7 separate regions of the Homo sapiens genome follow, and regions 1, 2, 3, 4, 5 and 7 are each linked to region 6. Evidence: promoter capture Hi-C in 16 types of primary human blood cells and fetal thymus (Javierre and others, 2016). All regions are on one chromosome and are shown on one strand. The core of a region is centred on a gene start or on the middle of the fragment in contact, and the rest is flanking DNA. Distances in the headings are between cores, read along the strand shown.

The links. The method cuts DNA at HindIII sites, captures the fragments that hold promoters and counts their contacts. A CHiCAGO score of 5 or more calls a contact.
Region 1: a fragment that was not itself captured here is called in contact with the fragment with the promoter of RMI2 in region 6 in 3 of 17 cell types (activated CD4 T cells, total CD4 T cells and non-activated CD4 T cells); the score reaches 6.9 in activated CD4 T cells.
Region 2: a contact is called between a fragment that was not itself captured here and the fragment with the promoter of RMI2 in region 6, in 9 of 17 cell types (activated CD4 T cells, naive CD8 T cells, naive CD4 T cells and 6 more). The highest score is 11.7, in activated CD4 T cells.
Region 3: a contact is called between a fragment that was not itself captured here and the fragment with the promoter of RMI2 in region 6, in 4 of 17 cell types (activated CD4 T cells, naive CD8 T cells, total CD8 T cells and 1 more). The highest score is 7.7, in activated CD4 T cells.
Region 4: a fragment that was not itself captured here is called in contact with the fragment with the promoter of RMI2 in region 6 in 7 of 17 cell types (activated CD4 T cells, monocytes, naive CD8 T cells and 4 more); the score reaches 7.6 in activated CD4 T cells.
Region 5: a contact is called between a fragment that was not itself captured here and the fragment with the promoter of RMI2 in region 6, in 1 of 17 cell types (activated CD4 T cells). The highest score is 5.2, in activated CD4 T cells.
Region 7: a contact is called between a fragment that was not itself captured here and the fragment with the promoter of RMI2 in region 6, in 5 of 17 cell types (naive CD8 T cells, activated CD4 T cells, naive CD4 T cells and 2 more). The highest score is 7.8, in naive CD8 T cells.

The regions. Positions count from the first base shown.
Region 1 is chr16:11,011,616-11,015,882 of GRCh38, reverse strand. All of the region lies in intron 11 of CLEC16A (C-type lectin domain containing 16A), which reads right to left. Among named protein-coding and RNA genes, the nearest start is that of CLEC16A, 69 kb to the right of the region's middle. The HindIII fragment of the contact is 3,806 bases long and covers 131-3,936 here.
Region 2 is chr16:11,029,490-11,033,520 of GRCh38, reverse strand. All of the region lies in intron 13 of CLEC16A (C-type lectin domain containing 16A), which reads right to left. Among named protein-coding and RNA genes, the nearest start is that of CLEC16A, 87 kb to the right of the region's middle. The HindIII fragment of the contact is 5,549 bases long and covers 1-4,031 here.
Region 3 is chr16:11,792,358-11,796,145 of GRCh38, reverse strand. All of the region lies in intron 1 of ZC3H7A (zinc finger CCCH-type containing 7A), which reads left to right. Among named protein-coding and RNA genes, the nearest start is that of ZC3H7A, 3.0 kb to the left of the region's middle. The HindIII fragment of the contact is 170 bases long and covers 1,854-2,023 here.
Region 4 is chr16:10,938,108-10,942,230 of GRCh38, reverse strand. DEXI (Dexi homolog) reads left to right here. Exons shown (of 2, transcript NM_014015.4): 1 at 1-662. The coding sequence starts at 226. The coding sequence ends at 513. It also overlaps a transcript of CIITA not described here. Among named protein-coding and RNA genes, the nearest start is that of DEXI, 2.3 kb to the left of the region's middle. RefSeq lists a silencer at 1-173. The HindIII fragment of the contact is 1,233 bases long and covers 934-2,166 here.
Region 5 is chr16:11,773,405-11,777,423 of GRCh38, reverse strand. It overlaps ZC3H7A (zinc finger CCCH-type containing 7A), which reads left to right. Exons shown (of 23, transcript NM_014153.4): 5 at 515-673; 6 at 892-972; 7 at 1,066-1,104; 8 at 2,411-2,444; 9 at 2,905-3,188. Among named protein-coding and RNA genes, the nearest start is that of ZC3H7A, 22 kb to the left of the region's middle. The HindIII fragment of the contact is 2,860 bases long and covers 245-3,104 here.
Region 6 is chr16:11,343,191-11,346,968 of GRCh38, reverse strand. RMI2 (RecQ mediated genome instability 2) reads right to left here and starts at 1,510. Exons shown (of 2, transcript NM_152308.3): 1 at 1,203-1,510. The coding sequence starts at 1,497. All of the region lies in intron 1 of LOC105371082 (a long non-coding RNA gene), which reads right to left. LOC105371083 (a long non-coding RNA gene) reads left to right here and starts at 1,757. Exons shown (of 2, transcript NR_135174.1): 1 at 1,757-1,856. RefSeq lists silencers at 1,182-1,261, 1,282-1,441. The HindIII fragment of the contact is 15,776 bases long and covers 1-3,778 here.
Region 7 is chr16:11,687,430-11,691,290 of GRCh38, reverse strand. It overlaps TXNDC11 (thioredoxin domain containing 11), which reads left to right. Exons shown (of 12, transcript NM_015914.7): 8 at 1; 9 at 2,846-2,988; 10 at 3,325-3,434. Among named protein-coding and RNA genes, the nearest start is that of SNN, 21 kb to the right of the region's middle. The HindIII fragment of the contact is 1,215 bases long and covers 1,266-2,480 here.

The DNA of each region.
Region 1 (4,267 bases), core at 784-3,283, 330 kb after region 6:
CCTACAGCTGCAAGTTCTCCTTCCCCAGGCTCAGCTCTGCCCTGCTTGGTTGACACAGTGGGAACTCAGCTCCAAGTACTTCCTAAGGTTACAGGGCCAAGCCCCAGCACCCTGGCCTGGAGGCCAAGCTTTGTGACGTAGTTGTCCCCTTTCTGGCTTAATCTCGTTGGACACCAGCAGAATTCCGGAGCAGAGAAGAGGGTGAAGACAATTCAGCACCAAGCTCATCCAACTTTTTTTTTAAGCAGCTGAATACTAATTTGCAGGACAATTTTCCAGGGCATCCCACCACAGTCAGCAGATGAGCGCAGAGCTGCTCCAGGAAAGGGTGGTGGGCATCAAATGCCTCTGACTGCCGTGGGCTCCCTCGTGCACTCCATGAGGCCCCTTTCTGGAATTCTACGGCTTCACACAAAACTGCTTGAAAACCACCGTCTGGTCCAACCCTGGATATTGAGTATGAGTGCACAGAAACCCACAAGTGCAGTGATTCTTAACACAGCTGGAAATGCAGCAGCAAAGCCAGGACCGCTCCCCCTTCCTCACCCCCAACCCCCGTGTCACATCTTGACGCAGAACCAGACCCACATGGGCCTCTCCACACAAAATGGGATTTCCACACCCTGGCTGTGACACCTGTGCGCACAGCTGCACCTCACAGTCCTCATCCAGCTAGCACAGCTGTAGAGTGAGTGGCTCCACTTAATTTTCTAGATGAATGCGGATCAGATCTTCAAATGTCAAGGAAAGGTTTCTTGCTCTTCTTTTTGATAGTTTTATCCAAACAACCCTTATAGGTACTGAAACAACCCTTATAGGTCTGCCAATTCCCTGAAGCTCTATGCAAAGTGCTATGTGGGCATGGGACCAGTTGGTAGCAGGTTTTTGGGGGAAAGGGCTCCCCAGATTCTCACTGCTCTAAAGTGAGTATCATCTTTAGAAGAGGACATCAAAGAGGACTTGACCTCCCCTGATGATCAGGGTCACAGGGAACCTCCTCATAGTGCTACACCTGAAGTTGGCACGGTTCTGTGCCACTCCGGGCCCCAACTCCAATTGTCCCTGTTGTCACTGGCCAGCCTCCCTCCCAAGGTGCGGGCGCCACACTGCTGCCACCAAGGAAAGCAGCTCAGTAGGCTATGTGGATACAGAGTTCCACCTATGGTCCCCAAGGCCGGGACTGAGGCACTGAGGCTGGATTTCCAGGGGGCTCTGACTGAACCTCAGTTATGATACTATTTGGAGTTTGAAGGGACTGAAGCAATAGTTTAATTTGCTTGCTTTTATGATTTCTGTCACGTCTCTGTGTTACCTGTACTATTTTTCATTTTATTTGAACTATTACTTTTTTTTCACTTAAATACAGCTTAAAAGGAAAGTTTAAATCACCGTTATACTCTACAACCTAGCAGCCCACTTGTAGGTCTTTCTCCGCAAGACACACCTCTGGAAGTATGCAACTGCACATGCACAAGGATATTTACTGTAGTATTCTTTGTAATTGCAAAATACTGGAAACTACCTAAATGCCCAGGCATAACAGACCGATGGAATCAACTATGGTACATACACACAGCACAGCTGTGAAAAGGAATGAAGAAGATCTGAGAAATGATATGGAGTAATTTCCGGAGACATTGCTAAGTGGAAGGAACACATATGCTACCCTGTATGTAAGAAAGGAAAAGAAGAAAACATACACAAATCTGCTTATTTTTACAGAAAGAAACACAGGAAGGAGACTTCTTCAGTACACAATCAAGTTGGTTATCTATAAGAGATGACAGGAATTAAGTGGAAGGGAGGAAGGATACTTCAGTTTGCTAATATTCCATGCATTTTTAAAATGAAAATTAAATCAATGAGAATGAGAAAGAAGAAGCCTAAACTGGAAATTTTAAAAAAGAATCCAAATTTCTTCTTCTTCTTCTTCTTCTTTTTTTTGAGACAGAGTCTCACTCTGTTGCCCAGGCTGGAGTGCAGTGGCATGATCTCAGCTCACTACAACTTCTGCCTCCCAAGTTCAAGCAATTCTCCTGCCTCAGCCTCCCGAGTAGCTAGGATTACAGGTGTACGCCACCATGCCCGGCTCATTTTTGTATTTTTATTTATTTATTTATTTTTGAGACAGAGTCTCACTCCATCGCCTAGGCTGGAGTGCGGTGGCGTGATCTTGGCTCACTGCAACCTCTGCCTCCCAGTCTAACGGGATTCTCCAGCCTCAGCCTCCCCGAATAGCTGGGACTATAGGTACACATCACCATGCCTGGCTAATTTTTTTGTATTTTCAGGGCTCCACCATGTTGGTCAGGTTGGTCTCGAACTCCTGACCTCAAATGATCTGCCTGCCTTGGCCTCCCAAAGTTCTGGGATTACAGGTGTGAGCCAGCACACCTGGCCTCATTTTTGTATTTTTAGCAGAGATGGGGTTTCACCATGTTGGCCAGGCTGGTCTCAAACTCCTGATTTCAAATGATCCGCCCATCTCAGCCTCCCAAAGTGGTGGGATTACAGGTGTGAGCCACCATGCCTAGCCTGAATCCAAATTTATTTTAAATGAATACCAAATCCACTCTGAATGGGGAAAGGAAGGATGCTCAGATTAATCCAAGTAGCTTATAAACACAATACAGCAGATCTTTGAATAACATCATTTCATTCAACATTGTTGCATTATAACATGGATGAGGATAAAAAGAAAAAAACTGATTCCCAGTCCCGGCCACCGTCTATGTGGAGTCTGCATGTTCTCGCCATGTCTGCATGGGTTTTTGCCACATATTCTGGTTTCCTCCCTCATCCCAGAGATGTACATGTTAAGTTCCCTGGCATGTCCACACAGGCGCAGTCTGAGTGAGTGTGGGGGCGTGTGAGTTTGTCCTGTGACAGGATGGTGCCCTGTCCAGAGTTGGCTCCCACCTGGCGTCCTGAAGTACCCAGGCACTGGTCATACAAGATCCTAAACTGGAAATATGCGAGTTGGAAAATAAATGAATACAAATGATTGTCAAATAACAATTCATAAAGTAGACGATAATACAAATGCATGACAATAAATGATGTGGTATGAAAGCATTCAACAAGCCTACCAGATTTGTGATTGGTTTTGAACCTCGTGCAGGAAGGAGGTGCTCCTTATGATTTTTCACTTTGCAAACATTTATTCCTTGATTTAACCCACCACCACCATGACTGCTGTTCATTCATTAATTCACCAAAAATCGGGTAAGTAATTATCTTACATGTTTTCATAAATCTTTCTTTTTTTTTTTTTTTTTTTTTTTTTTTGAGACGGAGTCTCACTCTATCGCCCAGGCTGGAGTGCAGTGGCGTGATCTCGGCTCACCACAAGCTCCGCCTCCCGGGTTCACGCCATTCTCCTGCCTCAGCCTCCCGAGTAGCTGGGACTACAGGCACGTGCCATTCCGCCTGGTTAATTTTTTGTAGTTTTAGTAGAGACAGGGTTTCACCGTATTAGCCAGGATCGTCTCGATCTCCTGACCTCATGATCCGCCCACCTCGGCCTCCCAAAGCGCTGGGATTACAGGCGTAAGCCACCGTGCCCGGCCCATAAATCTTTCTTAAGTGTATGTACAGCTCACATTTATTTCAATGTTTAATGCTAGAAGTATTTTGGGCCTTTATGTAGAAGTTAGATATGTTTTCGTGACCAGAAGTATGCCACATGAACTTAACTCCTGTTGATATCAACTCACCTATGGTAAAATTGGTTTCTTTATACATAATTTCCCTTAAGGTCACAGTTTCTAAGAACCTATCCTTGATGTTAAGTGAGGAATTAATGTGCTCAGCTATATATCCTCTATATGGGGATAAGTAAAGTATTGGGGTGGGCATGGGGGAGGGAAAATTGCAAAAACATCCTGAACTGTTTTTTAAGCAATAAACAACTCTAAGTGAAGCAATTCTGAAGCTTTTAGGTGCATTATAAGATTGGGCAAATCAGTGAGTAGACGTTGTTAGGAGTCAGGGCTCTCAGTGTACAAGAAGAAACATACAAATCTAAGATGGGAGAGGACAAGAAAAAAAAAACCTGTAAATTCACTGGAATTGGGGGTACTGGTATGAACATATGATTTCTAAAATACGTGTGTGTACGCATGCTTATATGTATGTATATGTAGGCACATATAAATGTACACTTTGTATATGTACATACATAGATTTCCTAGCTTTCTCCACTGAAAGGGCCAAACTGCAAAGATACCTCAGTAGCGATGAGCACATCCAGTGCCCAAATCTTGGC
Region 2 (4,031 bases), core at 905-3,404, 310 kb after region 6:
CTGTGCTCACAGGCCAGGACTGAGCATAAACCAGGTGGCAGCTCCCCCACGAGGCAGCTTCCCCAGGCACCTGGGCCTCAGGGCACCGGACTTGAACTTTTCCGTTTCTTCTCCAAACCTACTCCAAGGCCCATGCTTGTTAGTTCTGGAAATGGCACTATTGGTCACACAGGGAAAGGAGTCAGGAACCTGAGCCTTACCCAGGCTCCTCCCTTCATGCCCCCTCCTTTCAAATCAACCAGAACCCCTCACCCCTAGCCTAGTGACTCTCCTTGTCTCCTCATCCTAGTAAATGCACCCCCACCATTGCTCAAGCCAAATCACAGGAGTCATCTGACTCGTCCCTTTCACTCGACCCCTACATTCAATCCATCAGCACGTCCTGGCTCTAGCGCTGAAATAATCACAAGTCCTTCCAGTTTCCTCTACTCCCCAGCCAGCAGCCTAATCCAATCCACATTATCTCGCCTGGATGACTGCAACAGCTTCTTAGCAAGTCTCTCGGTGTTCCCTCCTGCAACTCATCCCCACCCCCAGTCATCTACTTTCTGTCTGGTAGCCAACGTTTCTTTTAAAAACTTCCATCTGACCACATCACTGTCCTACTTAAAAATTCGGTAGGGGTTTCCCATTGCACTTGGAGAAAAAATGGCAATTCCTCTTCAGGGCCTTCAAGGCCCTTCATGACCTGGCCCCTGCCCGCCTGGCCAGCCTCACCTTGGCCCACTTTCTGCTCCTTCCCACCCCGGGGCCTCTGTACATGCTGCTCCCTTCACCTGGAGGACTCTTGCCCCAGGTCTTTGCAGAGCTGGCTCCTTCTCACTCTCTGGGCTGTGGCTCTGCTGGTCCTTCCTCAGAGGAGCCCTCCCCGACCACCCTGACTAGCACCTAGTAACCCCTGCAGCACAACCACTAGGCTTCCTCATCACTCCACCCTGTTCATTTCCTTCTACCATTTGTCACAGTCACAATTAATCTTCTTGTTCACTTCAGTGAGACTCATCTGGGCTTGTTTGAGTGCCTATGACGGGGCCTTGCCCTGGCAAGCGCTCAGCAAGTATCTGCTGAATGATAAGAAAGCCTCTCAGTTTCACCTCTCATCCCTCCCACCCGCTGGCTGAATTACTGCAAACCCATTCTGAGAGGTGCAGAGTGGGTCAGCTCACTAACTGACCAACTGCCCCCCAGCAGCCCCACACGGCTCATAGGAACACAGTTCAGTCGCTGCCTGTGCCACCCCCTGCAGACTGGCTCCAGATGCCTGCCTCTTGGGGCACCCGCTGCCTCGGACATGCTGCCACTCACCCTAGGGAACGGGCAGTGATCTGATGGATATGCCACAGGCTCTCATGCCCCTTCTTGCTCTGTCCTCTACCATAGCCCGGGTGTCCTCAGGAAACGGGTCCTCACTCCTGCGGGCAGAGTCCATGCTCACCACCAGGCAAGTGACCCTCTATTGTGCTGACAGCCTCCTCGTAGGACTTTTCTGTCCAAGAATGACTGATGCTTTCTTGGGCAAGGGCCTGGGTTGGTCTGCCTGGAGTTTGTAGTCCCCATGTTGAGCACACTGCCTGGCACACGGCCGGTGCTCCACATGCATTTGCTGAATAACTAATTACATGAGGAAATTCATCAGAAACTGCAAGCTATTCCTCCTGATCACTTAAGCCTCCAAGAGGCCTCTCCTGATTGCTCAGGCGGATGTAGTACCCTCTACCCTCAGCCTGCCCCACCGCATTACCTAGTTTTATTTTCACTGTTGCACTTCTCGCTACATGGGATTATTTTACTTGGTTACTAGTTTACTGTCTGTCTCCTCTAAGAGAATCCAGATTCCATGAAAGCATTTGTTTGCTTCACCACTGCATCCCCAATACTGATCCCAGTGCCTGGCATCTAACAGGGGCTTCCAAAATATTTGTTGGAAGAATGAATGAATCAATACATGCATAGCATTAGCAGAAAATGGGAGAAGGAATTCAATTTCCTTGAATATACAGTTCTACTCTTCCAAGAAGAAATTCCCAAGAAAAAGAGGTAGGATGCCCAGGCGGGAACACAGGTGAGTGGTCTCTCCAGCGCATAAGATGGATGAAGGTGCATGGCAGCACACCCAGTAAGCCATGACGTCTCTGCTCCCCGTACAGGTCAGGGCTGCAGGAAGGAAGCCCATGGAGAACACCAGTCACCAAGATGAGGAGCTTGCCCACTGTCCCATGGAGCCTGGCATCTACACCACACAGACAGCACCTTCTTTGCTGAAGCCCTGAGCTACAAGCTGCCAGGAAGAGATGGCCTTGGGGACGTGCCACATAGCTGAGCAGCAACCAATCAGCAAACTCTGGCTGAGCACTGACTGAGTGCCAGGCGGTAGGCTGGGTACTGCAGGGAGCACATGGTTTCTGCCTTCCAAGGCCTAGCAGTCCAGAATGGGAGAGAAAAAATACAGAGAAAAGGCGGTATTAAAAAGTGCCACAGGAACCTCATGGAGATTAAAAAACATCTGGTCTTCCCAAGATGTTGTTATGAAAATGAAAAGACATGCCACAGACTTGGGGGAAATCATTGCTAAATGCCTCTGATAAAGGACTTGCATTCAAAATACATAAAGAACTCTCGAGGCTGAGGCGGGTGTATCACTTGAGGTCAGGAGTTCGAGACCAGCCTGGCCAACAGGGCGAAACCCTGTCACTACTAAAAATACAAAAATCAGCCGGGCGTGGTGGCGCACACCTGTAGTCCCAGCTACTCTGGAGGCTGAGGCAGGAGAATTGCTTGAACCTGGGAGGCGGAGGTTGCAGCGAGCCAAGATTGCACCATTGCATTCTGGCCTGGGCAACAGAGTGAGACTCCGTCTTAAAAGAAACAAAACAAAAAAACCCAAAAGTCTCGAAACACAATATTTTTTTTACTCAATTCAATTTAAAAAACGGGCTAAGGATTCGAAAAGACTCTTCACTAACAAAGACATGTATGGCAAAAGAAACACATGAAAAGATGTTCAATGTCATTAGGGATATGCAAATTAAGATCATAAGATACCACTGCAAACCTATTAGAATGGTGAAAACTAAAAAGGTGGCCACACCAAATGTTGGAAAGGAGGTAAAGGAACTAGAACTCTTGTACACTGGTGATGGGATATAAAATTATATAGGCATCTTGGAAAACAGTTTGGCAGTATCTTAAAATAAAAGCAAACATACACATATCTCCCATAATTATATGGGAAATATGATTCAGCCATTCCATTCCTAGGTATTTATCCAAGAGAAAAGAATGTATATGCTCATACAACTCTCTGTATGGGCATACATTGTATGGGGCCACACAAATGCTCACAGCAGCTTTGTTTGTAATAGTCCAAAACTGGAAACAACCCAAATTTCCATTAACAGATGAATGAATAAACTGTGGTATGTTCATATAATGGAATGTTACTCAGCAAGAAGAAATGAACTACAGATACACACAACATCATGATGGATCTCAAAATAATTAAGTGGATTGAAAGAAGCCACATGAAGAGGAGTACATGTTGCATGACTCTGTTTATACAAAATTTTAGAAAGTGCAAAACTAATCTAGCATGACAGGAAGCAGACTGGTGTTACTTGGGGAGAGGGGTGTGGGAAGCAAGGGAGGGGAATGAGGAAATGTTTGGGATGCTGGATTATACACTGCCTTGATCATGGTGATGATTTCACGGGTATTTACATATGTCAAAATATTAAATTGTGCACCTTAAATATGTTCAGTTTATTGCATATCAATTAGACTTCAATCCAACTTTTTCTTTAAAGGTGCTATGCTTCTGGCCAAGATGGACTGAATTTATCCTACTAATTCAGGCAACTTAGAAAGCAAGACAATATATACAAAACAATGGTTATCAGACTCTGGATGAACAGGCAGCATAAGAGAGAGATCCCTGAGAGGGAGAAGCACAAAGGCAGTGGCCCAGTGATTGCTCCAGCTTGCTGTCCAGTGAGAGTATCCGGGCCTCAGCAAAGGGATAGAAAACCCAAAGA
Region 3 (3,788 bases), core at 689-3,188, 450 kb before region 6:
TAAAATTAATCTTGGCAGGATGCAGTGGCTCATGCCTGTCATCCCAAAACTTTGGGAGGCTGAGGCAGGAGGATCGTTTGAGTGCAGGAGTTCAAGACCAGCCTCAGCAACATAGTGAGACCCCTGTCTCTACAAAAAATACAAAAAATTAACTGGGCGTGGTGGCGCACGCCGGTAGTCAGCTACTCGGGAAGCTGAGGTGGGAGAATCTGCTACTCGGAAGGCTGGGGTGGGAGAATCCCTTGAGCCCAGGAGATTGAGGCTTCGGTGAGCTGAGATTGTGCCTTTGTGCTCCAGCCTGGGACACTGTCTCAAAACAAACAAATAAAAAAACAAAAGTTAATCTCACTGCTTTTCTTTTTCTCTTTTTTTAGTGTGGCTATTTGGAAATTTAAAATGACATATACGGGCCGGGCGGGGTGGCTCAACGTCTGTAATCCCAGCACTTTGGGAGGCCGAGGTGTGTGGATCACCTGAGGTCAGGAATTCCGAGACCAGCCTGGCCAACATGGAGAAACCCCGTCTCTAGTAAAAATACAAAAATCAGCCAGGCGTGGTGGCAGGCGCCTGTAATCCCAGCTACTGGGGAGGCTGAGGCAGGAGAATCGTTTGAACCGGGAGGCAGAGGTTGCAGTGAGCCGAGATTGTGCCACTGCACTCCTCCCTGGGCAACAGAGCGAGACTCCCTCTCCACATACATGCGTACATACATACATACATACAATGACACGTATGGCTTATTTTGTGTAATATATTTTGTACAATATTTCGACTGGACAGCGCGCAGCTGGGGCATCTGAATGGGTGGTGGCCCTGAGAAGACATGTCTATCTGCTTATCTTTCCTGCTTCTCTGATGGCATGTGGCCTCCTTCCCTTAAGCTCTCAAAGAATCCACTGCCTCTTCCTTCTCATACTGAGCCAAACTGTTGAACTGAATTGCACAATGGGTCTTGTCCTAATTTGCAGAATAATTCAAGTTAATGGACAGTATTTTCCCTGTTGAAAAATTTTCCCTATCTGCTGTATGCTGGAGGCTACAAATAGTTGTATGAGGTTTGTCTCAGGATGAGATCATGAGTTGTTGAGGCTCAATATTATCAATATTTGTGCGTGTGTGTTTGTGTGTGTGTGTTTATTCTACAAAGAGCCCGTTGATTTTCTGCCATCCAAACGAAGTGGAGAATTCCTGCCTTTCTTCATGTTACTGTGACTTTTCGTTGGGGGTTTTACACAGACCTACACCCTCTTTCCTTCCCATTCCCCAGATTCTGTCAGTTTTTGCAAATAAGAATGGTGGCTTGTCAGCCACATTGTTCCACAATTCTTAGTTTTGACTGATTTTAAAACCTGCCAGTTGGGGTGGGTTAAATTGTCATTGTAAGTGGAAGAGAATCAATTATAGAAACTCTCAACTCCAGGGATGGTGAGAGTGACTGTTGGAAAGTTTTGAGCATTTCAGTAAAGGAAGAAAGAAACAAAAGACGTCTGTATCCTGTTGCCACAGATACCCTAGAAAGGGCTTTCTAGAGACAGTATGATGTGAGCAAACTTTTGTCTTCTGGATAACGTCTGGAAGTGTTCTGTTTTGTTTTGTTTTTTTTCTAGTGAAAATATTTTTCTCCAGAATCCTTATGAAAATTACTTAAAGTGTGAGGTGTTGGCAAATCAAGAAGAAATTTTAGATAATTTTTAAGGAGGAGAGAAGTATTAAAGTATTAATCCAGAAGTTTAAAAATTACTGCTAGTGATAACGTTTTAATTTACATGTACACAAAAGGCATATTAAATGAGGTGATTTTCGTTTATGTAAAGCAACGAGGTTACTTTTTCACAAATAGAAAGCGGGAAGCTTTATGTTTTCTGAAAAGGCCTGAATTTGGAGCAGGACATTAATCTGGCACATTTGGTAAGAAGGTGAGAGTGTGTTGGGGTTACTTGGTTGGGAAGACTTCATCGGCTGGCGGTCTTGGGTACATCGTGGTGGTATCAGTGTCCCCAGGCAAATCATTTGTCATGAAGCTTTTACATGAAATATTCCTGTTGAGTTCTTCCATACAGAGGTCATAGATAAGATGAGATGTTCCTGGGAACCACCACTTAGCAGGGCGTGGGTGCCGAGGGAGGCTCTTGGCAGGCGGAGCCTCTTCGCAGAGGGAGGCTCTTCAGGCTCTTCACAGACTTTGTATCTTACTGAATCTGAAATCTGACAGCAATTTCAAAGTGAATAGTTCCTGTGGGGGGAAGAACTCCAGCCAAAATGTAACATTACCTTCCTGCTGTTGTTTGGCATACTGTCTCTCATGAAATTTTCCTTTTCAGTAAAAGGGAGAAACTGTTTCATAAAGTATCCAATAGGAGCTTCAACAACTTTAATGTCTTATCATCTGGGTTTGCAGCCTTCTGAGGCTTGCCTTGTGCCCCAGGTGCTTTTGTAAGTGTTGCAAGAGCCAGTTAATATACTGTTGCCAATTAAGGATGACAATAATGATACTTTAACTACTTTGTAGTTGTTGTTTTAAAGCTATTAATATTACACAGGCTTCAGTCTGGGGATAGAATTGAATATGGAGTGGAATGTATCATTTTTCCTCCCCCCCACCCCCTTTTTTTTGAGACAGGATCTTGCTCTGACACCCAGGTTGGAGTATAGTGGCATAGTCATAGTTTGCTGTGACCTCAAACTCCTGGCCTCAAGCAATCCTTCTGCCTCAGTCTCCCGAGTAGCTGGCACTACAGTGTACACCACCATGCCCATTTAATTTTTTAAACATTTTTATAGAGATGGGGTCTCCTATGTTGCCTAGGCTGGTCTCAAACTCCTGGCCTGAAGCGATCCTCCCACCTCAGCCTCCTAAAATGTTGGGATTACAGGCATGAGCCACTGCACCCAGCCTGTAATTTTTCACTTGAAATGTAGGGATACCTTTTTAGGCAAAAGTACAAATGCTGTGCTAGGTGACCTCTGCACTGCCTTCACTGGGAGACTTTGGTCCTGTGTTAGTACATCTTGTAAGTAAGGCTGTTTTAATATTATTTGTATTTAAATACATTATGTTCTGGGTGGAGCAGATCCCCTTGAAAGATTTTCCCTGGAGTGATGTCCAGACTCCTGGCCTACTGCATTCCTGTGAAAGCCCTCTGCTTTGTCTGAGTTGCATTAAATGACGTCTGTTGAGCATATCTTTTTGTGTACACAAGTGCACACGCATGCGTGTGTTTCTTTCATTTCTCCTGAATGGCTTTAAAGTGCCCACCTGTTCATCAGAGCCATATTTGTCTTTCAGAGCCCAGCCCAGGGCCACCCTAGACAGATGCTCACTCCCCTCCAGGCGTCTTTGGCACGTAATGTGCAGAAGAGCCAGGTGGATAGGCTCTCAGGCTTGGAGCCAGGCTGTCTGCCTTTGAAATTGAGCTCTGCTACTTCCTAGGTGTAATCCTGGGCCAGCTGCGTCACTTATCTGTATTTCAGTTTCTTTATAGTACCTGTCACTTAAGGTTAGCAGGAGGATTAAATGACTTAATACGTATAAAGCATGTAGAACAGTGCCTGGAGTCCAGTAAGAGCTACTATTTCTGTCTCAGTATGTTGCAGTCACATTTCCCTTACCTTGATGTCTTCTGTTAATGTGAGCTAGTTTCTAAAGTTACCATGTAAGGTCAAAAGCTCATGGATGTGGATTTATTTGTCTAGTTACCAACATTGTACTAGACTTTGGGATAATGAGTTTAACCTACCAGGCACTGAGTAAATAGTAAGGGAGTTCTGAAGATCCAGGATACCTTGAG
Region 4 (4,123 bases), core at 301-2,800, 400 kb after region 6:
GGGCGGTCGAGAGATCCTTGGGGGCACATCTCGGGGTGCGGTGACCCGCCCGGCGCATTTCGGGGGTCGGGGCGCAATTGCCAGGGGACATCTGGAGCCCGGCCCTGCTTCTGTCGGGCTCCAGGGTACCCCTGGATGGCTGCGCTGTGCCCTCGCCGGCCGCCCGGGCGCCGCAGCGGCTGAGTTCGCCGGGATCGCCGGGCCGCCGCCCTTGCCACCCGCTGCATGCTCGGCGCCCGGGTCGCGGCCCACCTGGACGCACTGGGCCCCCTGGTCCCCTACGTGCCGCCGCCGCTGCTGCCCTCTATGTTCTACGTGGGCCTGTTCTTCGTCAATGTGCTGATCCTGTACTACGCCTTCCTCATGGAGTACATCGTCCTCAACGTGGGCCTCGTCTTCCTGCCCGAGGACATGGACCAGGCGCTCGTGGACCTCGGCGTGCTCTCCGACCCCGGCTCGGGCCTTTACGATGCTGACTCGGAGCTCGACGTCTTTGATGCGTACTTGGAGTAGGGTCTCGACTGCTGTTCCCCTCTTCCCTACACGATCCGCAACCCATGCCCTGGACCAGCCGCCCAGATCATGCCGCCGCAGCTGGTTGGGGGCACCATCTGGACGGGGATGGTTCCCCAGGAGGAGACCCTCCCCTGCCTCCGAGGCCTGTAAGTGCCCTCTCTGAACAGGATGAGGGCGGGTTGGGGCGCTAGCAAGGGAGAGGGAGGAATTCCCAGGCCGGATACACACCCCTCCCTCAGGCTTCTCCTCCGTTCACCTCCTCCAGGTCTAACTGGATGCCAGGAATGGCCAGACTCCTCTTAAGCCCTTCGTTTGGGCTGGAAAGCTTCCTCCAGCAAAGGGGACAGCTGGTGAAAAGGAAGGAGACCCCGAGACTAAGTTACATTTGGGGTAGCTCTGTGACTTACCCCCAAAGCTTATGGAAAAAGCCTTCGCTCCCAAATCCATTTGAGGCAGAGCTGTCAGCTCCTCCTCCAGTCCTCATCCTGGCTTGATGATGACCTTGGCTTTTGGGGGATTCTCGCTTGTCCTAGAAGGATAAAGATTTAGGGGTGTCAGAAGACACAGGGAGCCAGGCACGAATCACCTTTGTACTGTGGCCCTTGGGGTAGCTGGGTGGGGATTAAGTGCAGGGGCTCTAGGCCAAAGCTGTGAGAGGAGAAATCGCAAGCAAAGAAGCCCGTACTTCCTTTTGGCCTTGGGTTTGCTGCTATTTTGGAGTCAGGTTTCAGGGTGCCCCAGCTCATCAGTTCTGCAGCTCAGAACTGCAGGGGCTGCCAGTTTTGTAGGCTCCCTTCACAGAACAGGCAGGCAGGGAGCTGGTGCCAGGGCTCGCTTTGTCTGCAGTGTTTGCAAGCGCTCAGGGGGCTCTTAGGTCCTCGGGAGAAGGCACCACAGGGTCATTGCACTGAGATGGTCAAGTCCTGTCTTTGGGGCTGTGACGAGGGAGCTTTGCATCCAGCATCCAGCCCACTGTGTATGTGAGAGGTAGGGAAATGAAGGTCCAGGAAGGAGTAAGACTTGGTCATAGTCACAAGGAAGAGAGGCAGCTAGACTCAATTAGAGAGAACACGTGAGCCAGACAAGCTGTCAGGCAGCTGCCAGGTCTGGTGAGGGTCACAGGGCAGGCAGGAACGCCTTGGCTCAGCCCCTGAGACTGGACAGTACTGGAGTGTCACTGGGCACAGGGTCTAAGTGGCAATGAAGAGGGGATGCTGAGATATGGTGGGCAAGGGCTCCTTTAGGAAAATGGACACTAATGCCATTCACCGCAAGCAGGCTGAGTCCACCCCTCTCCTGCATTACCTGGCTTTGCCAAGACAACCACAGGCAGAGGGTGTCTTAGTTCAGTCTGCTATAACAGAACACCATAGGCTGGGGGACTTAAACATTTATCTCTTACTGTTCTTATAAGGGCATTAATCCCACCCATGAAGGCTCTGCCTTCGTGACCTAATCACCTCCCTAAGGCCGCACCCCGCAATACCATCATTTGGGATCAGAGTTTCAACATATGAAGTTTGAGGAGACACAAACATTGAGTCTGTTGCAGATGGTGGTACAGGGTGGGGTAGGACCTACTGACAGCATAGCTGGCGGCAGAGGGCTCTCCTAATGGGTTCACAGTGAGATTTCTTTGAAGAAAAAGCTTCAGTTGAGCTCAGTAACATCTTAGCGAGAACCAAGTGCCAGGGGGAGTGTGTGCCAGGTGCTCTGCACACCTCCCCAGCCTGCCTGCCTGCCTGCCATCCATCCGTCCGTTCTTTTACAGAATGAATGCTTGTTGGTTCAGTACAGTGCCTGGTGATTGAACACAGTGAACAAGACAGACCAAGCCTTGGCCCTTTGGCACTTGGTGAGGAAGACTAGTAGGAACCCAAACAAGAGAATCAGATTTTTTCGGAACTATGAAGGCAGGCAAGAAGGACATGAGCTTCCCTGTTGTGTTCACTGCCATGTCCTCAACACTTAAAACTGTGCCTGGCCTCTAGTAGACGGTCTCTGTAGGTGTAGACATGGAGTGAAACAGAAGTGAAACGGTAGGATAGAGATGGTGGGCTGCTTTAGCTGAGGGGTCAGAGAAAGCCTCTCTAAGGAGATGATGCTTTTGAGCTGAGCCTTAATTTGATAGAAGGATCTGGAGAAAAGCAGTCCAGGCTGAGGGAATCAGTGGTGCCAAGACCTTCAGGTGAGAGAGAGTTGGTTTTTCCGCAACCAAAAGGAGGCCCATGTGGCTGGAGAACAGCCCCAGGAAAGGTCAGTGAGGTGGGTGGGAGCCATACCATGGAGGACCTGGAAGGCCATAGCCAAGAGCAGTGGAAAGCCATTGGAAGGTTCTAGGCAGGAGATGACACAATCCCATTCCCATTTTGCAAAAATGACTCTGGCAATTGTGGACAGAATGAGCTGAGGGGTAAGAGGGGAAGCAGGGCCACCACCTCAGATGCTGTTAGTTGTCCAGGCCAGAGGTGACAGAGGCTTGGATGAGGGGAGTTTAGTGAAGATAGAGAAACATGAACAGACTGAGAACAACTCTCAAAAGTAGAACCTATGGAATCCATTCAAAATCTGTACTGAGCATTGATTGTATCGCACTCCTGTGTCTAGGCCCTTTGCATATGCACTCACTCATTCAACAGACTTTGACCCTGCCTGCTCTTCTGCCAGGCCGTGTGCTAAGGGCCTGCGATCCCAAGATAAATCCCTGTCTCCAAGCCAAGCATTTGACTTTGAAGCAGTGTAACTTGGTGAGGAACGTCTTATTTTATCTCTTTACCACATCAACAGAAACACTTCCCCTTCCAAATGAAAACATTGGCATATTCTGAACTAAAAACTGAATCCCAAATGCTTCGACATATTTTGCAGCAAACGCTGTTTAAGCAGAAACACCAGGAAATATCTCTCAGGGACACCCTTGCAAAGCTCTCGGGGTGTCAGGGCCTGACCCTGGGAAGTGGGGAGGCCTGGAGAAGTGGTGGAAGCCATGCACAGCCTTCCCTCCTCCCCACCCTCAAATCCAAGCCAAGGAGGCCTTGCCCCCAAGTGCCGAGGAAGCTCAGAACCCCAGGGTATGAGAGGGGTAGCTAGCAGCAGGGAAGCCGCCAGGAAAGACCTCAAGATGATCTGACCGAGCCTCATCTCCAGGCCCCTTTCCATAAGCAGGGGAACGCCGGTAGTCAGTCCTGCTCTTTCTCAGCCATTCTCATGTGGTCACATGTGTTCCCCACACGCCAATCCAGGAAACAGTGACTAAGGGCGTGGAGCATGTCACACAGTGGGGCCCAGGATGAATCTCAAGATGAACAGGTGCACCTACTTTTGCTCCCTCTTTTTTTTTTTTTTCTCTTATGTGTGGACCCACATAATTCAGTTCCTCAAACATTTGCTGAGCACCTACTTGAGGAGGCAGTATTAGGGTCATGGTTAAGAGCCAGGGCCCTGGGTTCACATCCCAGGGTAGCTGTGACCTTGGGCATGCTGCTTAACCTCCCTGTACTTTGGTTTCCTCTTCTAGAAGATGGAAATAATGAAAATCTCCCTTGTTGTGAGGATTAGGTGAGATATACATAAAGCACTTAGATCTCCTTGTATATAGTAAGAGATG
Region 5 (4,019 bases), core at 425-2,924, 430 kb before region 6:
TTTCACTGTGGATACTCGGTAAAATATAACCATGAATTTAAGAAAAATATCCGTGTTGTCACCTAGCTCTTTGTTAAAGAGCATTCATTGTTTATTTATTTTGTTTTGGGTAATATATTCCTTATCAGTTAGCTGTTTGGAGTTACGTTTCTGTTTGACATCTTAATGTGCTCCAGCAAAGGGTAACTACAGAGGAGCGAATAGGAGAGGGACACATGGGGACATCAGTTAGGTCTGGAAAGCTTTATTTCTTGAAGATCTGGGGACTTTCTGACCAAATATTAGCATTTGTCTGACCTGGATGGTGTGTACATGGGTATTCATGATATTCTTTCTACTTTTTTGTATTTGAAATTTCATAAAATAATTTAAAAAATAAAAGTAATACTGCTAACTTGGAGTTTAGAGGGAGGGTAATAGGATGGGGTATTAATTTGTTTTTATTACAGGAAGGCCTCAGTGCAAGAAATGAATTGTTTGATTGCTGACTTTATTCTTTGGTCTTACACACCAGGGTTTCCATGATAAAGTTTTGGAGGACTGCAATATAGTCCTCAGTTTAAATGCCAGTAACTGCAAAGCTCTGTATCGGAAATCTAAGGCTTTAAGTGATTTAGGAAGATACAAAAAGGCTTACGATGCTGTAGCAAAGTGCTCCTTAGCAGTGCCTCAGGTATGGAATTTATAGTTTATTTGTTTACATCGTAACCATTTACATCATAATAAATGGCATTTAAAGAGTTAAATTTTCCAGTCATCCATCAACCTGCTTCAGTTGGGTATAAATGCTAATGAAGCAGGTGTCTTGATGGGAAACTTCCCTGTTTTGTCTATTCTTCTTCACCATTAGTAAATATAACCCTGTTAATTATACATACTTATTTTTTTCAGGATGAGCATGTAATAAAACTAACTCAAGAACTAGCTCAGAAATTGGGATTTAAAATAAGAAAAGCGTATGTCAGAGCTGAGGTAAGCTGGAGTTCTCTGCATAAGGTGTTTTCATTTTGTTTTAGAACTTGGAGTCAGTTCTGTTTTTAAATTAGTGTCTTTATTTTATTTCAGCTCTCATTAAAATCAGTTCCTGGGGATGGGGCTACCAAGGTAAAGTTATTTTTTCTGTCAAAATTATATTTTTTTTTAAAGGGAAGGATGGGAGCAATTCTACTTTTAGTATTTTTGGTGTGTGTTTATTTTTGGAACCTTTTTAATTCCTCAAACACGTAATTGGCAATACCCTCCTGTCACTTTATTTATTTTTTTGAGACAGAGTCTTGTTCTGTTGCCCAGGCTGGAGTGCAGTGTCCTGATCTTGGCTCACTGCAACCTCCACCTCCTGGGCTCAAGTGATCCTCCCACCTCAGCCTCCCGAGTAGCTGGGACCACAGGCACACACCACCATGGCCTGTTAAATTTTTGTATTTTTTGTAGCGATGGGGTTTCACCATGTTGCCCAGGCTGGCCTCAAACTCCTGAGCTCAAGTGTTCCTCCTGCCTTGGCCTCCCACCAAATGCTGGGATCACAGGCGTGAGCCATCTCTTCTGGCCTCTTCTAGTCACTTTACAAAAGAACATCTACAACTCAAGTAATATATTTTAGCTGTAACCAGCATTTCCTGAATGCTCCAGTGGGGCATTTTATAGGATGTTAATAGATGTTAGGTTTCAGTGCAATAAGAGTGGTTCAGGGCCAAATACTAGTTTTGGGAGTCATTTGTGATAAAATTAACAAAGGGTTTTTTTTTGTTTTTGTTTTTAATTTTAAAATTAAAATTTTCTTGGGGCTAATAGGATGCTAATGGCTATTGTGAGTTGGGCAATGATTGGTGGCCAAATTCATCCCTGTTATTCTGCTGAATAGCCTTTGAGAAATGCTGGTCCACGAGAAATAAGTGGCAGCACTGCTAGACCAGCACCTCACCTAACACCACATGTATACAGGTTTGCGTGTTCCATTCATTTCTTGGATCTTAATTGGGAGTTGAATTTCTGTGGAAACCTGCATTGTTCTCTTAGGGTGAGTTTTTTCTTTTTTTCTTTTTTTTTTTTTTCCAAGACAGAGTCTCGCTCTGTCACCTAGGCTGGAGTGCAGTGGCGCTATCTCAGCTCACTGCAGCCTCCACCTCCCGGGTTCAAGCAGTTCTCTTGCCTCAGCCTCCTGAGTAGCTGGGATTACAGATGCCTGCCACCATGCCTGGCTAATTTTTGTATTTTTAGTAGAGACAGGGTTTCACCATGTTGGCCAGGCTGGTCTCAAACTCCTGACCTCGTGATCTGCCTGTCTCGGCCTCCCCAGGTGCTGGGATTACAGGCGTGAGCCACTGTGCCCGGCCTAGGGTGAGTTTTACTGATTGTTTTATGGCTTAGAGTCCTGAAAATATTATAACCCATTGTTTGGTTTAATTTCTAGGCTTTGAACCATTCTGTGGAAGATATTGAGCCAGGTATGTTTTCACATATCATCTTAACAATTTGAATAGTGCCAGCTTTGTACCTGATGTCTTTGTATGTGATGTATTGTCAAATAATATCGCTGTGTGGTTATATTCATATTAATGTATTAATATGAAAGTGAAAATGATTTCCAATGCTCCCTTTGTGCCTTTGGATGTGCCAGTGAGTGACTGAAAAGTGTTGGATGTTAGTAAGCAATCACTGACACCCACTGTGGCCTTGCCACTGTCTGATAGCTGTGCCCAAAGAGAGATACAGGCATTTTGTGAAAGAAGGATAAGTTTTCACACGTGACTGTATCTGTTTGGAATTGCTTTACTATACTGTCAATTTTATTATTTTTATAATTGCCTTCATATTTTCATCTTTGTATCTCTATTATTGGGGATTAATGGTATTATTATGTAAGTACGATGAAAGTGACTGAGTACATTTCCATCTGTGTTACAGATTTATTAACTCCAAGGCAAGAAGCAGTTCCTGTTGTCTCTTTACCGGCACCCAGTTTTTCTCATGAAGTTGGAAGTGAGCTGGCCTCAGTTCCTGTTATGCCCTTAACTTCTATTTTGCCACTACAAGTGGAAGAGAGCGCTCTGCCATCTGCAGTGCTGGCAAATGGAGGAAAGATGCCCTTCACTATGCCAGAAGCTTTTCTAGATGATGGAGATATGGTCCTTGGAGATGAACTAGATGACCTGCTTGATTCTGCACCTGAAACTAATGAAACTGTTATGGTAAGTTTCAGTGTTACTCAAGTTTCTTCTGAAGACAGAGTTAACTTTTTAAAAATTGTAATATAACTTGATAGACTTTTTCAGTATTGCATATAGGCTGAATTTGGGGGTTTTTTTAACCTTGAAAGTTACTTTTTTTCTTCTCTACTGAAACTGGTTAATTTGATCATTTTGAAATAAAAAAAGAATGCTATCTAGTAATTAGCCAATTTTTTTCCAATTCATATTGGGATCTCATATTATGGAAAGGGCAAAGATAACATTCTGATAAAAAATAGGCGTTTGATATTTAAGAAAAAATGAATTATATAGATTAAAGACTTCTTATTCTTTTTATTTATTTATTTTTTTTTGAGACGGAGTCTTGCTCTGTTGCCCAGGCTGGAGTGCAGTGGCGCAGTCTTGGCTCACTGTAAGCTCCGCCTCCCGGGTTCACACCATTCTCCTGCCTCAGCTTCCTGAGTAGCTGGGACTACAGGCGCCCGCCACCACGCCTGGCTAATTTTTTTGTATTTTTAGTAAAGATGGGGTTTCACTGCCTTAGCCAGAATGGTCTTGATCTCCTGACCTCGTGATCCACCCGCCTCGGCCTCCCAAAGTGCTGGGATTACAAGCGTGAGCTACCATGCCCGGCCTCAGGACTTCTTATTCTTAAAGATAATCCTCTAGCAACCACATACTTTAAAGCGGGGTTCAGCCAACTGTAGCCCACAGGCTAAATCTGGCCTATTACCTGTTTTTGTATGGCTTGCAAACTAAGAATATTTTTTACAATTCTTAAATGGTTGAGAGAAGAACAAAAAAGAGAATAATATTTTGTGACATATGGAG
Region 6 (3,778 bases), core at 261-2,760:
ATACAGTTGTCAGGACCACACAGCTCTGGCCCTCCAGTAGCTTGGGCTGGCCCAGTGGTTCTCAAAGTATGGCCCCCAAACCAGGCGTGGTGGTACAGGCCTGTAGTCCCAGCTACCCAAGGAGGCTGACGCAGGAGGATTGCTTGAGCTCAGGGCCAGCCTGGGCAACACGGTGAGTCCCCTATCTCAAATAAATAAAACATTTAAAAAGTCGAAAGTATGGTCCCCAGACCAGCAGCATCAGCATCACCTGGGAGCTGGTTAGAAATGCAAATTTCCAGCCCCACCTGGACCTCCTGACTCACAAACCCTGAGGGTGGAGCCCCAGCCATCCCAGCTTTACCAAGCCCTCCAGGAGAGACTGATGCTGGCTCAAGTTTGAGCATCAGTGGTTTAAGAGAGGAAGCAGGCAGGGCGCAGCGGCTCATGTCTGTAATCCCAGCACTTTGGGAGGCCGAGATGAGCAGATCACTTGAGGCCAGGAGTTCGAGACCAGCCTGGCCAACATGGCAAAACCCAGTCTCTGCTAAAAAATACAAAAATTAGCCGGGTGTGGTGGCACATGCCTGTAATCCCAGCTACTCGGGAGGCTGAAGCATGAGAATCGCTTGAATTCGGGAGGTGGAGGCTGCAGTAAGCTGAGGTCGCGCCACTGCACCCCATCCTGGGCGACAGAGTGAGACTCCGTCTCAAAAAAAAAAAAAAAAAAAAAAGAGAGGAGGCAAACATGAGTGAGCTACAGCCCAAGACAGTTCAATTAAGGAGAAGTACAGGAGGGTCTCCCGTTCCTAGGGGCTAGGGAGGACTTCCCTGAGAAAGGCACATTTGAGCTGAGACGTTAAGGATGAGCAGAAGTTTCCCAGGACAGTATTTCCCAAAACAAGGATATCAACTGGGAGAGGGGGCTTGTGACAAACGAAGGTGCCGGAGTCCCTCCCCAGAAGATTCCCACTAGGGGTGGGAGAGTCCCAGGAATCTGTATTTGTAAAAGGGACGGCAGGTGATGCTTATCATCAGATCAACTTCACCAAGGAGGGACCGGAGCAAGGGTACCCAAGCGGGGACCCGCAGGGGCAGAGGCCCGGAGGAGGGCCAGACCCGCCCCGCCCCCGTTCGAGTGTCAACAACAAGATCGAATCTGGCCTCGGCAACTTCTCGGCGGGCAGCAGGGAAGAGGGCGCCCGGTAAGGCCCGGGCATTACCTGGGACTAGACAGGGCCGCCCGCGCGGCACCCGCTCCAGGCCGCGGACCGAGAAGTCCCCGCTCGGGTCCCTCAGCCGAGCCTCGCCGCGGTCCGCCATCACTACCCTGCCCTGCATCCACACGGCCGCCAGGTCCAGCGGCCCGCGGCCCGCCGCCGCCCGTGACAGCCGCCACGCGCCCGGGCCGCCCTCCGCGTCGCGCCGCAGCTGCTCCGCCAGCACCTTGAGTGGCGGCGACCTCGGAAGCCGCACCCCCGCGGGGCCGCCTGAGAACGAGTCCGCAGCCGCCGCCATTCCGCCTCGCCGCACCCTTCCGCCCCGCCTCCGCTTTCCCGCCAACTTTGAGAAGCAGCGGGGCCCGGCCCTCAGCCACCAATCAGGAGCGCGCTGGCAGAGCCGGCCAATGGTCGACGTCAGAAGGCGGGACCGCCGGGCGAAGAGGCCCTCTCTAGCAGCCAGGAGTGCGCATGCGTAGATAAAAGTAAATAAACGCCCTCAAGTTAGGAATGAACGGAGGAAATGGGTTAAACGAGAATAAATAATTGAAGGCAGAGAGGTAAAGAACTTCCTCTTTCAACGCATCTCAAAATTTGGCGTGGATGCAGATCACCTACAGAGTATGATTATTCATCTTTACATTGCCTTGTTTTGAGGTTAGTAAATACTGAAACGAATTAAGAGTCCGTGTTTATTGGGAGTGAGCAAGAATCCAGTCAGGAGATAAGGCTGGGGAGGGAGACGGGGAGAGCTGGCAAACTTGCCTTTTCTTTTATTATTATTTTCAGTTATATTTTAATAGCATCAAATAATTTTAAGGTTAATAAAATATATTGCTATTTTTCAGACAAGAAATGCACATTTATTGTAAAAAAAATAGGGGAAAAATGTAGAACAAGAAAATAATTGTAAAAGCCGCTTATAGATACCCACTGTTAATTTTGGGGTATATTAGCCTTTAGGCTTTAAAATATGTGTGTGTATTTTTTTTGAGACAGGGTCTCACTCTGTTGCCCAGGATGGAGTGCAGTGGCACAGTGACGGCTCACTACAACGTTCACCTCCCGGGCATAGGTGATTCTCCTACCTCAGCCTCCCAAGTATCTCGGACTACAGGCGTGCACCACCACGTCCAGCTAATTTTTGTATTTTTTGTAGAGACAGGGTCTTACCATGTTGCCCAAGGTGGTCTGGAACTCCTGGGATCACGCAATCCTGCCTCCTTGGCCTCCCAAAGTGCTGGGATTACAGGCGTGAGCCACCATGCCTGGCCTATTACTGATATACAAATAGTGTTTTGTATATTGTTTTCACTTAATAATGAACATCTTTCTGTATCAGCAAATATCCATCTGCTTCCTCTTGAATGACTGCATAATACTCGATTTGTCTTATCACATATTAAACCAATATCCTACAGTTGGACATTAAGGCTATTTCCAATTTTTCACTTTATAAATATATCCACTGTGGACCTACTTAAAAGATAAATCTTTTTTATTTATTTATTTATTTATTTTTTTGAGACGGAGTCTCACTCTGTCACCCAGGCTGGAGTGCAGTGGCGCCATCTGGGCTCACTACAAGCTCCGCCTCCCAGGTTCCCGCCATTCTCCTGCCTCAGCCTCCCGAGTAGCTGAGACTACAGGTGCCTGCCACCACGCCCAGCTAATTTTTTGTACTTTGTTTTAGTAGAGACGAGGTTTCACCGTGTTAGCCAGGATGGTCTCGATCTCCTGACCTCGTGATCCACCCGTAAAAGCTAAATCTTTTTGTGCATCCTTCAAATAAAATTCCCAGGAATCTCTCCCTAAAAATTGGATGTCCCCAGTCAGCAAAGTCCACAGATCCTAAATCAGGCAATCCTTAAAGTCAAGGTCAGTTCTTAAGAGAAACTTTGAGTTCCCAGGGCCTCCTGCAGTACCAGGCATTCAGAGAGTATTCAGCAAGAGCTTGATTTTTTTTTTTTTTTTTTTTTGAGACGGAGTCTCGCTGTGTCACCCAGGCAGGAGTGCAGTTGTGCCATCTCAGCTCACTGCAACCTCCGCCTCCCAGGTTCAAGTGATTCTCCTGCCTCAGCCTCCTGAGTAGCTGGGACTACAGGTACACGCCACCCGCCTGGCTAATTTTTGTATTTTTTAGTAGAGACGGGGTTTCGTCATACTGGCCAGGCTAGTCTCAAACTCCTGACCTCGTGATCTGCCCGCTCAGCCTCCCAAAGTGCTGGGATTACAGGCGTCAGCCACCGCACCCGGCCAAGAGCTTCATTTTTATAAAATTGAGCCAGGTCCTATTGTAAGAACTTTGTAGGAAGTATCCCATGTACCCCCACAGACCCTGAAAAGACTGTTCCACACAGGTGAGGAAACTGAGGCTTAAGGAAGCTAGAGGGCTGGCCCATAGACTCTCAGTAGCCTCTATGAGGTTTTGGCCTCTACACCTAATATGGTTTGGCTGTGTCCCCACCCAAATCTCATGTTGAATTGTACTTCCCATAATCCCCACATATCGTGGGAAGGACCCCGTGGTAGGTAATTGAATCATGGGGGCGGATACTCCCATGCTGTTCTCGTGATAG
Region 7 (3,861 bases), core at 624-3,123, 340 kb before region 6:
GGTACTGCAGGCAGTTTATTTCCCCAAGCATTGTACATTTTGCTTGACTTCATATGGGTAAATTTTATTGATGGCTCTCATTACATTTAGTTGTGGGGTGATGTCACCTTCGTAGCTCATTTTAAGTCTTTAGACCACCATCAGTCATAATTTTCAAAGAAGCTAATTTTGTCTATTAAATGGAACAGAAACTTCCTCACTCTGAATTTTGGATAAGTTTGTCATTTAGCCCATGGTGGGGGTAAGAGTCCCACTTTCTAAATTGGCGATTTCTGTCACATGTCTAAGGTAGAACCAGCTGCAGGCAGTGGGGACTTGGGGACTAGAACAGGCAGGGAGGTGGAGAGCTATTCTGGTGGGATGTCCTAGGGGCTGATGAAAGTGAGCCTTGACAGCAGCTTTGTTCTAAAGGAGCTTAAAGAGAAAGCAGTGGCCGGGCGCAGTGGCTCACGCCTGTAATCCCAGCACTTTGGGAGGCCGAGGCGGGTGGATCACGAGGTCAGGAGATCGAGACTATCCTGGCTAATGTGGTGAAACCCCGTCTCTACTAAAAATACAAAAAAAAAAAAAATTAGCCGGGCGCGTTGGCGGGCGCCTGTAGTCCCAGCTACTCGGGAGGCTGAGGCAGGAGAATGTCGTGAACCTGGGAGGCAGAGCTTGCAGTGAGCAGAGATCGCGCCCCTGCACTCCAGCCTGGGCGACAGAGCAAGACTCCGTCTCCAAAAAAAGAGAGCAGTGAAGAAGGAAGTAGAGCCGCCTTGCCTCCCTTTTTGTCTCATAGGCTTAAATGTCTAAGGATCAAGGCCACCAGACCTAATTTGTTCTGCTGCTGTTTCATAATGTACTGAGTAATATTGCTGGGACCTGGGGTACCTACACTGTAACAAGTGTAAAGTGCAAATAAATAAGTGTCAGTCGCAAACCAGCAAAACCCACTTTTTGAGGAGTAAGGCTCCATGATGAGAAAGCACCCAGAGCTTGCCCCTGGGACTTGGCAGCAACATTGGGCTGACCCACCCTGGCCTGTTCCCAGGAATTTGCTGATGCCCTTGACTACACACAATGAAGTGAGAATTCAAAAGCCACGTTAGTTCAGCCTCATTGGAAACGGGAGGGAGGGTCAGTGTATGCCGAATGGAGAAAGGAGGAATTTGGTAGGGAAGGAAACCTTTCATTTCAAGTTTTAAAGTATGAACTCAACAGTAGACTCAGAGCTTCTACATATGAGTCTTTTTAGCCATCCTCTTTCAAATCTAGGTGAAGCTTGTTTCTTACATTAGACACATTTGTGAAAAGGCTTTATGTAAATATTGATTTTTCTATATCAAGTTACATATTATAAATCCAAGAGTTCCTCACTGTGTAAAAGAACCCTGTGACCAGTCACTTTTTGAAGGGCATAAATCTGTCGATATTATAGATTACTCCCAATTCATGTTATCTAAAGTCATTTTGATGTGTTGAGCTTTCTTAAAATGAAACAAGCATTTTTTTTTTAAATGGGAAAGAGACTCCAGAGAAATGGGGTCAGTGTTCCTACAAGCATGTATTTTTGAGGTAGTCTGTATTAGATTTTCCTGAATTCCATTCAGTAATGCTCAAGTGTTTAATGACCTCATAATGTGTTCACTTTGAATTTAAGGGTAATTGAAAGAAGCCTTCTTTAGATTTCTTTCCATCTTCTGTATCTTCTCTGAAATGTTTAGCCTAGCTGTTCTTTGTCCTGCAGTTAGTGACAGAATTCTTAGGGAGCTTGTAAAAAACACCTACTGTGTGTCATTGTTGGTTTAGAGACTTAACTCATAAATCAGCTGTCTCTAGGCTAGTTTCAGAATTTAGGCTTTATTCAGATTAGGAAATAATTCTTGGTTTCATGTTTCAAAAACATAGCCAACTAAGTGTTTCTCAGATGCTGATCATGAATTCTCTTTAGTATTCACATGACATTCTTCACTTCCTCTTCCATTCTGCACGCTGCATTGCCCATTGCACCTCAAAATGGAGGGAGTTAGAAGAAAGAAAAAGAACTGAAACTTTAGCTGAGTGCAATGGTGGACGCCTGTAGTCCCAGCTACTCTGGAGGCTGAGGTAGGAGGATCGCTTGAGCCCAGGAGTTTAAGGCTACAGTGAGCTATGATTGCAGCACTGTACTCCAGCCTGGGCAACAGAGTGAGACCCTGTCTCTTTAAAAAAAAAAAAAAAAGTGAAATTCAAATTAGTATTGTTTCAGATGAAGCAAAGGACTCTGAAGATGGCAGAATTTGTGGTAAAACTGTTGGTTCAAATCAGGTTTTTGATTATTATGGGTTTTATGTATTTTTCCACTACATATAATTTTTTCTTAACCTTTAAAAAAAGAAACTTAAAGAACCTTAATAAAGGAAACAAAAAACTGTAGCTCCTTGTCCTCAAATTAATGAGCATTTAAACACATTCCACACTACTGTAGCTTGTGCAGTTGTCACATTTGTGGTTAAGCTTAAAGGTCTTAGTATTATAGGGTGAAATTTCTTGAAAAGATGGTGGCTTGTTGATGATTTATACAGTCTCACTTGGTGTCTATTTGTGGACCAGTCCTTTTAAAAAAAGAATAGTCTATGAATATTAGAGCATCTAACATTGCATAGTGTTTTGTTATCCACATTACTGTCTGCTGAGTTAATACTACCAGAGCTAAACCTGATGCCACCCGGGCAGCTTTGTTTGGGGTTTTGCTGATAGGTGAAATGTTAAAAATGTGAGCCTATGAAGTCATTTGAGTTTTTAAAATGTGGAGTTTAAAAGTAGGCCAGCTATTCTCTTTGTATCTAGAGGAGAGTTGATCTCATTTTCTCTTTATTTTTAGAGTCTTTTATTCAAAACTTCAGCGTTCTCTATAGTCCCTTGAAAAGGCATCTCATTGGAAGTGGCTCTGCCCAGTTCCCGTCTCAGCATTTAATCACTGAAGTGACAACTGATACCTTTTGGGAAGTAGTCCTTCAAAAACAGGTATGGAGTCATGAGAGGCAAAAGTTAAGCCATCTGTCCCTCTTAAAATAATTTCCAAACTACAGTTGTTGGGGTGAGCAGCTGTTTTTGATGTATAGAAGAGTAACCACGTGATGGCCCAATTATGGACCGTGAATGAATTACATGTGGTTTTTAAATTTCAGAAAAGTGCTCCAGAAAGCACAGTATTGGAAAGACCTAAAGATGAAAATTTTCACTGTAATATTTGCATAGGTAGCATTTTTCGGGTGCTTGCTGGATTCTAAGCAATGAGGAAAGAAATGAAGAAGAGCCCATTTCCCGGTGCAAGTAACATCTGTCTTCCCTTTCCCACAGGACGTTCTCCTGCTCTATTACGCTCCGTGGTGCGGCTTCTGTCCATCCCTCAATCACATCTTCATCCAGCTAGCTCGGAACCTGCCCATGGACACATTCACTGTGGCAAGGTAAGCAGGCCTCTTCTGCAGCGCTTTGGGCTGTATGCCCATTTTCACTCTTATTTGCAGCTTAGCCATATGGTGTGTGAGGGTCTGCCCATTTTCCATTAACCTTTGGTAGGACTTGGCTGAATTTAATTGTCAGGTTGAAGCCATGAGCAAAGCCTCTTTGAAACTGAACTTTTCCTCATGAATTCTGAGTGTTCCTTCCATGATGTTGATGTTTAGCCCTGACTAGATTCGTAGGTGGCTGAGTGCAGTTCTGTGGGGAGAGCACTGACCTGGTTGCCAGGATGGCCCCGTGGAATACCATGGGACAGTTGCCCCAGGCAATGCCAGTGGGTCCTGGGATCCCAAGCAGATCTCTCCACCAGCCCTGGTTTATCTCATTTGTGAAATTAAAAGGAAAGACCAATAGATATCCACATTCTGGTAT